Regions from separate parts of the Homo sapiens genome. Here regions 2 and 3 are each linked to region 1. The links are contacts of gene promoters, found by promoter capture Hi-C in blood cells and fetal thymus (Javierre and others, 2016). All regions are on one chromosome and are shown on one strand. The core of a region is centred on a gene start or on the middle of the fragment in contact, and the rest is flanking DNA. Distances in the headings are between cores, read along the strand shown. Region 1 holds the start of SDHAF1 (succinate dehydrogenase complex assembly factor 1). Region 2 holds the start of SPINT2 (serine peptidase inhibitor, Kunitz type 2). Region 3 holds the start of PSMD8 (proteasome 26S subunit, non-ATPase 8).

Region 1 (3,635 bases), core at 1,032-3,531:
CTTCACAGTTTCAACAGAAGTCCCGGGTCTGATTCTCATTGTCCCAGTGGAGGTCATTTGCCCATCCCTAAACAATTACAGGGGTCAGGGGATGGGATATTCTGATTTGTCTCTAAGTAGCCAGGCCTGGGCATGTAACAGAGCTGTAGCCAGAGCCAGAGGGCAGGGATATTACCCAGGAAATCCCCTAGAATAAGAGTGGGCCAGTTCCCCAAAGACAAACTGAGAGACTGTAACCAGAAAACCATTGACAGGCCCTGGGCAGGAGGCAATAGTATTCCCTTTGAGGTTTTGCAGCTCCTTGAGTCCACTGGAAAGTAAAGAAAGTCCCCCTAGGCTGATTGACATAGTTGTCTTGGAGATTAAGGGTCATTTGACAGGAAAAAGATAGATGTTTAAATTCCAGAGTACAAGCCAGCATGGTGGCTCATCCCTATTATCCCAGCTACTTGGGAGGATGAGGCCGGAGTTCAAGACCAATCTGGGCCACATAGCAAGACCCTGTCTCTAAAAACAAAACAAAAAATAAATATTTAAAATTCCAGAGTGAAGCCTGGGCAACACAGCGAGACTCTGTCTCTACAAAAAACAATAAAAGAAGAATTAGCCGGGTGTGGTGGGATGTTCACGTAATCCTAACCACTGGACATGTTGAGGCGAGAGGATTGCTTGATCCCAGGAGATCAAGGCTGTAGTTTCACCAATATGGTGAAACCCCGCCTCTACTAAAAATACAAAAATTAGCCCAGTGTGCTGGCACATACCTGTAATTCCAGCTACTGGGGAGGCTGAGGTAGGGAGAATCACTTGAACCTAGAGGCAGAAGTTTCACCATGTGGATCAGGCTGGTGTCGATCTCCCGACCTCAGGTGGTCCGCCCGCCTCGGCCTCCAAAAGTGCTGGAATTACAGGTGTGAGCCACCGTTCTAGGACATGTATTTTTGATAGATACATACACCTGCCAGGCAGGATTCACAGTGGTTTGTGATTCTCCCCTGACTCCAAGACTCCAAGCCTAATCCCCGCCCCTGACCAGCTTCTCCTCTCTGAAGGGGAATGGACCCCCCAGCTGGTTGCCGGCCCAAGTGTGCAGAGCCGCGGTTGCGCGCTGGGTGGAGGGGTCCCCCAAGCTCCGGTGCTGGTGGGGCCCGAGGATGCTGTGTCCTTGCGGGCCTCCCTAGCGCTACGAGGACACCTCCAGGCGGCCCGCGGGGACAACAACGGCATTGCGGCCTACCACCTAAAGCTCCTGGGAGGACAACGGGGTTGCAGTCTAGTCGACTGTTCAGGGTGTCCCGGACTCCGGGCTTTAACAGTCGGTAAGGACCCAAACACCGCTGTCCACTGCCCCGACTCCCACCCGCAGAGGGCGCGACCAACCCAGCTCCTAGAGCCACACGCTGCCTCTGGGGGCTTGGCGCCCACACTCTCTCTGCTTGTCTTCCCCTGGCCCGAGAAGCCTGTCCAACCGGCCGAGAGCCATTTCCCTACGGGGTCTCGTCCCTCTGCACGTGCCCAGGGCTGGGACCCCAGACACAGACCTGCCCCGGACGAGGGAACGCACGGAGCTTCCCAAGATGGTTTGAATCAGTAACTGACGGCAAAAGCACGCTTGTGCCCGGCGTCTCTCCCAGTGCCCCGTGCCCTTGGGACCCAAAGTCCGAACCGGTAGCCGGGCGCGGTGGCTCACGCCTGGAATCCCAACACTTTGGGAGGCTGAGAATCGTTTGAGCCCAGGAGTTCGAGCCATTCTGGGCAACATAGGGAGACCCATCTCTGCAAATAATAATAATAATAAATAAATAAATAAATAAATAAATAAATAAATAAATAGCGGGCGCGGTTGCGCGCGTCTGTGGTTCCAGCTACTAGGGGAGTTGAGGTGGGAGGATCGCTTGGGCCCAGGAGTTCGAGGCTGCAGTGAGCCAAGATCGCGCCACTGCACTCCAGCCTGGGCGACAGCGAGACCCCGTCACACACAAAAAAACCCCTAGCTTCCTCTTCTCCCAGAATGCAGGAGTTAGGTGAGGACCCTCTGTTCCCTCCAACCCAAGACCTAGGAGTCCGAACACATAACGCCCTCCAGGCGGTGCCAGGATCCCCAGAACTGCTGTCCCCTCAAGAACACACGTCCCCTACGTGGGAGGCCGCGACCAGCGACTCCGCCCACTTCTCCCAGCCGGCTGTTACGTAACTGCAACGACAGCCAGTCAGACGCGGCAGCGCCGGATGGCGGGAGGCGGGAGTTGGAGGCCAAGGGAAGCGCTGGGCGGAAGTGGCTGTGGCTTTGCCCTTTGGCCTTTGCTGGCTGTGTGGCGGCTCCGCGGTTCGCAGGTCGTTCGCTGAGCGTCTCTGCTTAGCCGCGGTCATGAGCCGGCACAGCCGGCTGCAGAGGCAGGTTCTGAGCCTGTACCGCGATCTGCTGCGCGCCGGGCGTGGGAAGCCGGGCGCCGAGGCGCGAGTGCGGGCAGAGTTCCGGCAGCATGCGGGCCTGCCGCGGTCCGACGTGCTGCGCATCGAGTACCTGTACCGCCGCGGGCGGCGCCAGCTGCAGCTGCTACGCTCGGGCCACGCCACCGCCATGGGCGCCTTCGTACGCCCGCGGGCCCCGACCGGGGAGCCTGGCGGCGTGGGTTGCCAGCCTGACGACGGCGACAGTCCAAGGAACCCCCACGACAGCACGGGGGCACCGGAGACCCGCCCCGACGGACGGTGACAGGCGAAGAGCCGAACTCGCTCGATGGCGTGGTGGAGCCAGGAGGCTCGCCTGACTGCATGGGGGGACTGGGGAACCCGCCTAAGGTGAGAGGTCTTAAGAGACTAGCTTGACGAATTGGGGATGTCAGAGACTCCTCCTTGGCGACGCAGGGGGCCTAGAGAGCCCCGTGATGGACGGCAAGGGAGGCCCGCCTTTTCCGATGCTTGGAGACAGGTCGGTGCTCCTCCCCCATGAGGGCTTGGGGCGGCCTGGGACGCTGGCGGGCTGGACAGTGTCAAGCCAAGAGCTACTTGCCCGAAGGTACGGGGAGCCAGGACGACCCCCGGTGGACAGGGAGAGCCTGAGACGCCCTTCTCTTGACCCCTGAGAACATACCCACTTCTGGCTCCTCAAGGAGTCTCCCCTCTCCTGTATTTAACTCTGAGAAGTGCAGACTTTTTGCTGAGAACGTTTTGGGAAGGTGCCCTGATGAGCGGTGAGAAGCCCGGAATCCCCTTCTGGAAAACTTTCCCCCATTAATTGTGACAAGCCAGGACCATGAGGAAGGGGTAGGGGTCTATCACCCTGGTTGATCAACTGAAGACCCCCAAAGGCCCCTACTTGATGGTTTTGAGGGGCAACATTGACTCATTTGCCCCTTCCCTCTCGGAATGTTGGACAAAGGGAATAAAATTGGGGATATGTCTACTTCCCTGTTGGTGGTCTTAAAGCTTTTATATATTTCAGGATTTTTGAAACACCCCCAGCCCCCCTGCCACCACACACACACGCACACAGACACCTGGAAGGGACCATCTGGGAGGTGATAGGTGTGGGGATCTGACTCCTTCCGGAGCCCTGTAGACTGGCACATTGATTGAAGCGGCATAGTTTTCTCCCCTGGGCAGATCTGTGGAGGGGGCTCATCCTGGCTTAA
Region 2 (3,767 bases), core at 11-2,510, 2.3 Mb after region 1:
GTGTTTTCAGGCCAGGTGTGGTGGTTCACGCCTGTAATACAACACTTTTGGAAGGATGAGACAGGAGGATCCCTTGAAGCCAGGAGTTTGAGACCAGCCTGGGCAACATAGCAAGTCCCCTGTCTCCACAAAAAATTTAAAAATTAGCTGGATGTGGTGGCTCACATCTGTAGTCCCAGCTACTTGGGAGGCTGAGGTGGGAGGATCCCTTGAGCCCAGGAGGTCAAGGCTGCAGTGAGCCAAGATCACTCCATTGCACTCCAGCCTGGGCAACAAGAGCAAAACTTCCATCTCAAAAAAAAAAAAAAAAAGAAATAATCTAAAAGTGTTTTCAATAATAATGCATTTATGTTGATTACCTTGTTGGCTATCCTCTACTCGTGTGCCTGCCCCACTCCATTCCCCTTTCTAGAGTCTGTTCACGTAACTCCTCTTCCAGGAAGCCCTCTTTGACTCCCAGGCTTGGTCAGGTGTCTTCTCTGGGTTTCCCCAGGGGCTTCCTTCCTCTCAATTCTGATGCTGCCTGTGCTAAGTATTTGTCTCCATATCTGTCCTGAGAACCTTGGAGCCAGGGCTCGGGGCTGTTTTTGCATGGGCCTATCACCTCCTCCAGGAAGCCCTCCTTGGCCCTCTCTCAGGCTGGATGGGAAAGCTGTCTGGGCTCCCATCATGCCCTGGTTTTCTAGCGACCCAGCCTCTGATCCCTAAGCTTGGCCTTCCCCATCACAGCTTTCATCACTTTGTGCTAAGCTTCCGCTATCACTACTCTGGGCCGTTCCTGTTTGGTGACTCAGGGACCAGTCTGGCATGGCCACCGCTGGGTCCCCAGCATTAAGCCCTGGAGCATGAGCCCAGTGAACTTTGAAATTCAGGAAGGAATTCACAGGAAAGCTGCGGCGAGGCGGGCAGAAAACCACAGGCTTCCAAGAAACGCGTGTCTGCCGCCCCCTCCTCCCACCCTGAGGCCAGTCCTAGAGCGAAGGCCCTCCTCCGACGTCGTCACCAAGCCCAAGGGAAGGGTGGCAGGTGCTCAGCGGGCAGACGCCCCGCCCCGCCCCGCCAGGTTCTGTTGGGGGCGAGGCCCGCGCAAGCCCCGCCTCTTCCCCGGCACCAGGGGCGGGCCCAGGTGCGCCCAGGGCCGGGGAGCGGCCGCGCAGGTGCCTGCCCTTTGCGCCTGCGCCCAGCTCGCCCTGCCTAGCCAGGTGCGCCCCGCCCCCTGCCTGCCCGGCCACCTTCGGGAGCCGCTTCCAATAGGCGTTCGCCATTGGCTCTGGCGACCTCCGCGCGTTGGGAGGTGTAGCGCGGCTCTGAACGCGCTGAGGGCCGTTGAGTGTCGCAGGCGGCGAGGGCGCGAGTGAGGAGCAGACCCAGGCATCGCGCGCCGAGAAGGCCGGGCGTCCCCACACTGAAGGTCCGGAAAGGCGACTTCCGGGGGCTTTGGCACCTGGCGGACCCTCCCGGAGCGTCGGCACCTGAACGCGAGGCGCTCCATTGCGCGTGCGCGTTGAGGGGCTTCCCGCACCTGATCGCGAGACCCCAACGGCTGGTGGCGTCGCCTGCGCGTCTCGGCTGAGCTGGCCATGGCGCAGCTGTGCGGGCTGAGGCGGAGCCGGGCGTTTCTCGCCCTGCTGGGATCGCTGCTCCTCTCTGGGGTCCTGGCGGCCGACCGAGAACGCAGCATCCACGGTGAGGGCCGGGCGGGTAGGCTGGAGGCGGGGCGCAGGGGGCAGAGGCTCGGGGGTCAACGGGGGTCTGAGCAGGGAGAACTGGCGGGGGAGGAAACTGGGGGCTACTTGATGGCGTTCAGCGGGTGTGGTGGAACCAGCCCTGGAGGATTGAGCCTTGAAATGAGGTTTGGGAGCCTTCGACAGCGAAGACGGGCGGAGGAGCGAGGGTTAGGAGAGTTTCCTTCGGGTGGAGGAAGAGTCAAGGGGTATTGACCAAGAAGGCGTGGCACTGCCCCTTCCTGTGGCAAGAACGGGGTGAGGAGCCGAATTGAAGACCAGCCTTCTCCTGGCGGTGGAAAGTTCCATGGCCAAAGCTCAGGGAGAGGCCAGGCCTGTGAGATGGTGGGGGTTGGGTTGGGTGACCTGGTGGCCGTTTTAGACTCGGAAGAAGCCCATCTCACCCCTGCCTCTTTGGAGATTGGACAAGAGCCTCCCCTGAAGTTTTTGTAGTTGAGTTGCAGTAAAGTAGGTGCCCGAGAAGGAGGGAGCAAGAAAGGAAACAAGCTTTGGGGAAGAGGAAGCTCTGCTAAGGCTCGAGAGAGTATTGGCGTTGAGCAGCTGGTGTTGGGGTCTTTGGATTGGCCCTTAGAAGTCGGTGGTGAATAAGGTGATTTAAACTTCTACACTCTTAAGGAAGTGTGGTCTGAAAGGTCTCTTTGAACAAGTGTTGTTATAACCTTAACTGCTTCAGACAAGCACCAGCGTGTTTTGAAAAGAGCTCTCTTGAAAGCAAGAATTCATTGATTCAGCAAAACTTACTGAGGCCCTGCTACGTGTCAGGCACTGGCGCTGGTTATAACAGTTAACTCAGACTAGCTGGGTTCCTGCATTCACAGAGCTAATATTCCAGTGGGAGAGGCAGAGCTAGTGAAGGTTTAAAAAGCACTTGCCATGAGATTAAGTTACTGAGAATTAAATGAACCAGGTGAAGTACACCAACAGGGTGACGTAAGATGTTGGGGGCGGCTTTAGCTCAGGTGGTCGGGGGACGTCTCCGTGAGGAGGGTGACATCTGAGCTCTAACATGAAGAATGAGGCAGTAGCCACACGGAGACCTGGGGGACCAGTGTCCAGTTGCAGGCAATAGAGTACAAAGGCCTTGAAGCTGGAACAAGCTTGGTTGGGTTCAGGGAAAAGACAGAGCCAGCCTGGCTGGAGCAGGCGTGAAGGAGGGGAGGACTGGAGGAGGATGGGAGGTGGGAGAGGTTGGCTGCAGCCAGATGGCCTAGGGCTTTATAGACAGGTGCTGGTGCTTGAACCCGGGAGGCGGATGTTGCAGTGAGCCAAGATCGCGCCACTGCATTCCAGCTTGGGCAACAAGAGTGAAACTCCCATCTCAAAAAAAAAAAAAGAAGGCCGGGTGATGTGGCTCATGCCTGTAATCCTAGAACTTTGGGAGGCCAAGGCGGGCAGATCACTGGAGGCCAGGAGTTCAACACCACCCTAGGCAACATGATGAAACCCCGTCTCTACCAAAAATACAAAAATTAGCTGGGCATGGTGGTGCACACCTGTAGTCCCGGCTACTCGGGAGGCTGAGGCAGGAGAATCGCTTGAAGCCCAGAGGCGGAGGCTGTAGTGAGCTGAGATCAAGCCACTGCACAGCAGCCTGGGCGACACAGCAAGACTCAGTCTCAAAAAAAAAAAAAAGAGCAGGCTAGGTGTGTACCAAGTCATCACCTGTGGTAACTTCTGGGGACTGGTTAATTTCTCTGTGCCCTAGGCAGGAGAAAAAAGTGAATTGGTGGGGAGAGGCTCAGCTGTAGGTGACTGGGAGTCAGGAATGCAGACGTTGATCATTCTTGCAATTCGAACCAGAATTTGGCAGCTCTGCTGGACTTTTTCAGTTTAAGTAATTACGTTAGGATGTACCTCCCAGTTACCTGGCCTCTTGCTACCTCTGGTGCTTACTCTGAGCTGGGACATGGCCTCTTGCTACCTCTGGTGCTTACTCTGAGCTGGGATGTGCCATTTAACCTTTGAAACAGCCGGGTGCGGTGGTGAAGTTACTTGCCTTGCCCGAGGTCACTCGGTAGTAGT
Region 3 (3,997 bases), core at 321-2,820, 2.4 Mb after region 1:
AGTCTCGCTCTGTCACCCAGGCAGGAGTGCAATGGCGATCTCAGTTCACTGCAACCTCTGCCTCCCGGGTTCAAGTGCTTCTCCTGCCTCAGCCTCCCAAGTAGCTGTACTACAGATGTGCACCACCACGCCCGGCAAATTTTTGGTATTTTTACATTTATTTATTTATTTTCTCTGAGACAGAGTCTCACTCTGTCACCCAGGCTGGAGTGCAGCGGCACAATCTCAGCTCACTACAAGCTGACCTCCTGGGTTTAAGCGATTCTCCTGCCTCGGGCTCCTGAGTATCTGGGATTACAGGTGTGTGCCACCACGCACAGCTGGTTTTTTTGTTTTTTTTTTTTGGTATTTGCAGTACAGATGGGGTTTCGCCATGTTGGCCAGGTTGGTCTCGAACTCCTGACCTCAAGTGATCTATCTGCCTCGGCTTCCCAAAGTGCTGGGATTACAGGCATGAGCCACCATGCCTGGCCAACAAATATTTATTGACTGTCTACTAATATTTGCCAAGCACTGAGATACTGGGAATTCAGTAGTGAAGGAAATCGTCCTGCCTTCATGGAGATGACATTCTAAATGGTGGAGACGGAGAGTGAAAGTCGGGTTTGAGAAAAACGTGCTGCCCAGGCGCAGTGGCTCACACCTCTAATCCCAACACTTTGCGAGGTCAAGGCAGGAATATCGCTTGAGCTCAGGAGTTCGAGACCAGCCTGGGCAGTATAATGAGACTCTGTCTCTATAAAAAATTTAATTTTTTTTAAAAAGAGAGAAAAAGCGATGTTGAATGTGCAGATGTAATATCAATCAGTGGAGGAAGAAGTTGGTATAAGAAGTTGTGAATACTGGCCAGGCAAGGTGGCTCATGCCTGTAATCCCAGCATTTCGGGAGGCCAGGGCCCAGGGAATCGCCTGAGTTCAGGAGTTGGAGACCAGCCTGACCAACATCTACTAAAAATACTAAAATTACGTCTCTACTAAAAATACGAAAATTAGCCAGGCGTGGTGGCACATGCTTGTAATCCCAGCTACTTGGGAAGCTGGGGCAGAAGAATCACTTGTACCCAGGAGGCGGAGGATGCAGTGAGCCAAGATTGCTCCATTGCACTCCAGCCTGGACAACAAGAGCTAAACTCCGTCTCAAAAAAAAAAAATTGTGAATCCTCCACTTACACATGACATTGAAAGCCATAGAGCTGGATGAGTTTTGTAACTAGTTAGTTCATATAAGCTTGGGAAAAAAATGTGGAAGGATGCATTGAAAAAGACTGGAGAGGGAGCCCCAGGTACACATCCTAGCTGTTAGTCCTTTGGAAGGTTACCCAGCCTCTCAGTCTGTCTATAAAATGAGAATAACACAGCTCTCCAAATGGCACGACACCCGCTACCTTTTGGCTTGGAGACGCTGCCCCGAAGGCGGAACCTCCAGGACAGCTACGTAGCGTCCCGAGCACTCAGACTGAAGCCAGGGCAGCCATGTTCATTATTGGAACCGTGAGGTGGGTAGGGGGGGTGGTGTTGAGACAGCTGTCATTTTCAGTTAGGGCAAAAGCCAACTTCCGGTCACCATCTTGAGTGACGACAGAGGCGGAGCTCCAACTGACATGTTCATTAAGGGCAGGGCTCCGAGGGCGCCACCTCGAGAGCGACGGCGGGCTACCCGGGGCGGGCTGAGGCAGGTTGTAGCCCCGCCCCGGGCCTTGGGCTCCACCTCTCGGCCCCACTTCCGCCGGGCAAGCGTTTGTAGGCGGCGCTGCCGTAAATCAGGCGGTCTGCTTGCCGCATCACGCAAGATGGCGGCCGCGGCGGTGAACGGGGCGGCAGGCTTCTCGAGCTCCGGGCCCGCGGCAACCTCGGGCGCTGTTCTGCAGGCCGCGACCGGCATGTACGAGCAACTCAAGGGCGAGTGGAACCGTAAAAGCCCCAATCTTAGCAAGTGCGGGGAAGAGCTGGGTCGACTCAAGGTAAAGTCGGCAGGCCCAGGAAACCGAGTGTTGCGGGCGTGGGAGGCGCTACGAGGTGTCTGGACCCAACCAAGTCCCGGGCCGCGGAAGCCACCTCGGTGCCAGCGAGACTGAGGCGGGCTGGGGGATCCGATGGGGTGAAAGATTTGGAACAGCCAAAGTGGGGGCTCGGAGGGCGTCAAGAAGCGAGAGAGGGACAGGGAGCGTTGATGGTCACGCCTGTAATCGCAGCGCTTTGGGAGGCCGAGGCGGGGGAGCGTCGCTTGAGCCCAGGAGTTCAAGATCAGCCTGAGCAACATAGCGAGACTCTGTCTCTACATTTTTTTTTTAAGTGAGAGATGACTGGAATGGACCCACGCGGGGGTGGTGGGGGAATGATTGGAAGACTTATGGCAGAACTGAGTGAGGGGTTAGATTTTTGGTGCGTGGAGGCTTAACTGGTCGGAGTGGCAGGATTGGGATTCGGGCTTTTCCTGATGGTGGATTCCAGGCAAGACCAAGTGGGAAGTGAGGACTGCCCGGAGTGATAAAAGAATGAGGCTGAAAAGGTGGGCTGTGTAGAGGGTGTGTGGTTAAGACCAGGCTGGGTTAGGATCTGAGAGATCTGGGGCTTAGGCTCGCATCTGTTGGGAGAGGGGGCAGCCTAGTTGTGAAGGCAGGACTGAACCTAGAAGAAATATTCTTACAAGTAGAGAACAAGAATACGGGGCCCAGAGTGCTTCAGACCAAACATCTGTTGGGAGGGAGTGTAAATCCAGTGGCTTGGAACAAGCTGCTGAGCCTGCTAAGGAAAGATGTATGGGCTGAACTGTGGGGGGAGATTTGGACCTCCCCCTCCCAGATATAGATTTTGGGGATAGCCCAGCTACCCCTTCCCCAATAGATTGTGGGGAAGATGGGCCAAGAATGGAATGTACTCCTGTCCCCACCGCCGCGTGATTCCACTGGGTCAGGCACTGAGTGTCCCTCCTTGTTTCCCCAGTGGGGCTATTAATAATTGTAATGTGATGTAATCTTAAATGGGCATGTGTTGCGTGCTCAGGCCCTGTTCTGAGTGCTTTATGAGAAAGCATTCCTCATGAGTCTGGATGATGGTTAGCTCCATTTTCCAAGTGGGAAGACCAGAGCGTAGAGCAGGTAAGTCATCTGTATTTGAATTCCCTTCTTTTCTTTCTTCCCTCCCTCCCCTCCCCATCAGCTAGTTCTTCTGGAGCTCAACTTCTTGCCAACCACAGGGACCAAGCTGACCAAACAGCAGCTAATTCTGGCCCGTGAGTGTCACTGGGGTTGGTTGGGGGTGATAATCTGGGGGTCATGGCAGGAATGGTAGCACTGGTGGTTGGGGAAGAGACCTCAGTCACCTCCTGAGAGCTCACTCTGTCACCCACAGGTGACATACTGGAGATCGGGGCCCAATGGAGCATCCTACGCAAGGACATCCCCTCCTTCGAGCGCTACATGGCCCAGCTCAAATGCTACTACTTTGATTACAAGTGAGAATGGGCCCTGCCCCCAACTGGGGGGGTGGTTGCATGGAAGCTCCTTTATTTCTGGAGCTCTGGCTGCTTGGGTCCTCTTCCTTCATCTGGGAACTCCTCCTGGCTTAGTTCTCTCCTCAGTGGTGCAGGGTCAGGGCTTGGCTTGGAGGTCCTGAGACTTGGCTTGACTAGTCAGTCTCCCCCTACCCATTCCCACATTGCACCCCCTCTGCCCAGTGGGGCTGCCATCACCTTTCACGTGTCCTGGCCCCAGCCTTGCCCCTCTGACTCAAACCCCTGTGGCAGCCAGTAGGATCATGTGACACTAAAATTTGACACTGTCCATACCCCGCTCAGAACCTGCCGTGGCTCTTCATGGTCCTCAGGCACAAGACCAAGTTCTTTCCTGTGGCTTCCAATGCAGTTCCAGCTCACACCCCTCTGCCTGTGCCTGCTCATCCCAGCCCTTTCTCTCACTGGACTGTGAGCTTTCTAAAGGCAGAGCTTGGAACTGTCTCAGTTACTGCTATGTCCCTAGCACTGCCTACCACAGGGCCA

Evidence for each region. Contacts are between HindIII fragments. The CHiCAGO score rates a contact against its expected background, and 5 or more counts as called.
Region 2: a contact is called between the fragment with the promoter of SPINT2 here and the fragment with the promoter of SDHAF1 in region 1, in 1 of 17 cell types (fetal thymus). The highest score is 8.7, in fetal thymus.
Region 3: the fragment with the promoter of PSMD8 here is called in contact with the fragment with the promoter of SDHAF1 in region 1 in 4 of 17 cell types (non-activated CD4 T cells, M1 macrophages, monocytes and 1 more); the score reaches 7.1 in non-activated CD4 T cells.

What each region holds. Positions count from the first base shown.
Region 1 is chr19:35,992,907-35,996,541 of GRCh38, forward strand. It overlaps SDHAF1 (succinate dehydrogenase complex assembly factor 1), which reads left to right and starts at 2,282. Exons shown (of 1, transcript NM_001042631.3): 1 at 2,282-3,406. The coding sequence starts at 2,369. The coding sequence ends at 2,716. RefSeq lists enhancers at 1,245-1,744, 2,079-2,128, 2,389-2,468 and silencers at 2,529-2,588, 2,619-2,738. The HindIII fragment of the contact is 4,511 bases long and covers 1-3,427 here.
Region 2 is chr19:38,263,313-38,267,079 of GRCh38, forward strand. SPINT2 (serine peptidase inhibitor, Kunitz type 2) reads left to right here and starts at 1,261. Exons shown (of 7, transcript NM_021102.4): 1 at 1,261-1,686. The coding sequence starts at 1,581. RefSeq lists an enhancer at 1-809 and a silencer at 966-1,285. The HindIII fragment of the contact is 1,481 bases long and covers 749-2,229 here.
Region 3 is chr19:38,373,001-38,376,997 of GRCh38, forward strand. It overlaps PSMD8 (proteasome 26S subunit, non-ATPase 8), which reads left to right and starts at 1,571. Exons shown (of 7, transcript NM_002812.5): 1 at 1,571-1,961; 2 at 3,160-3,232; 3 at 3,352-3,454. The coding sequence starts at 1,602. RefSeq lists enhancers at 1,480-2,110, 1,741-1,880. The HindIII fragment of the contact is 10,393 bases long and covers 1,227-3,997 here.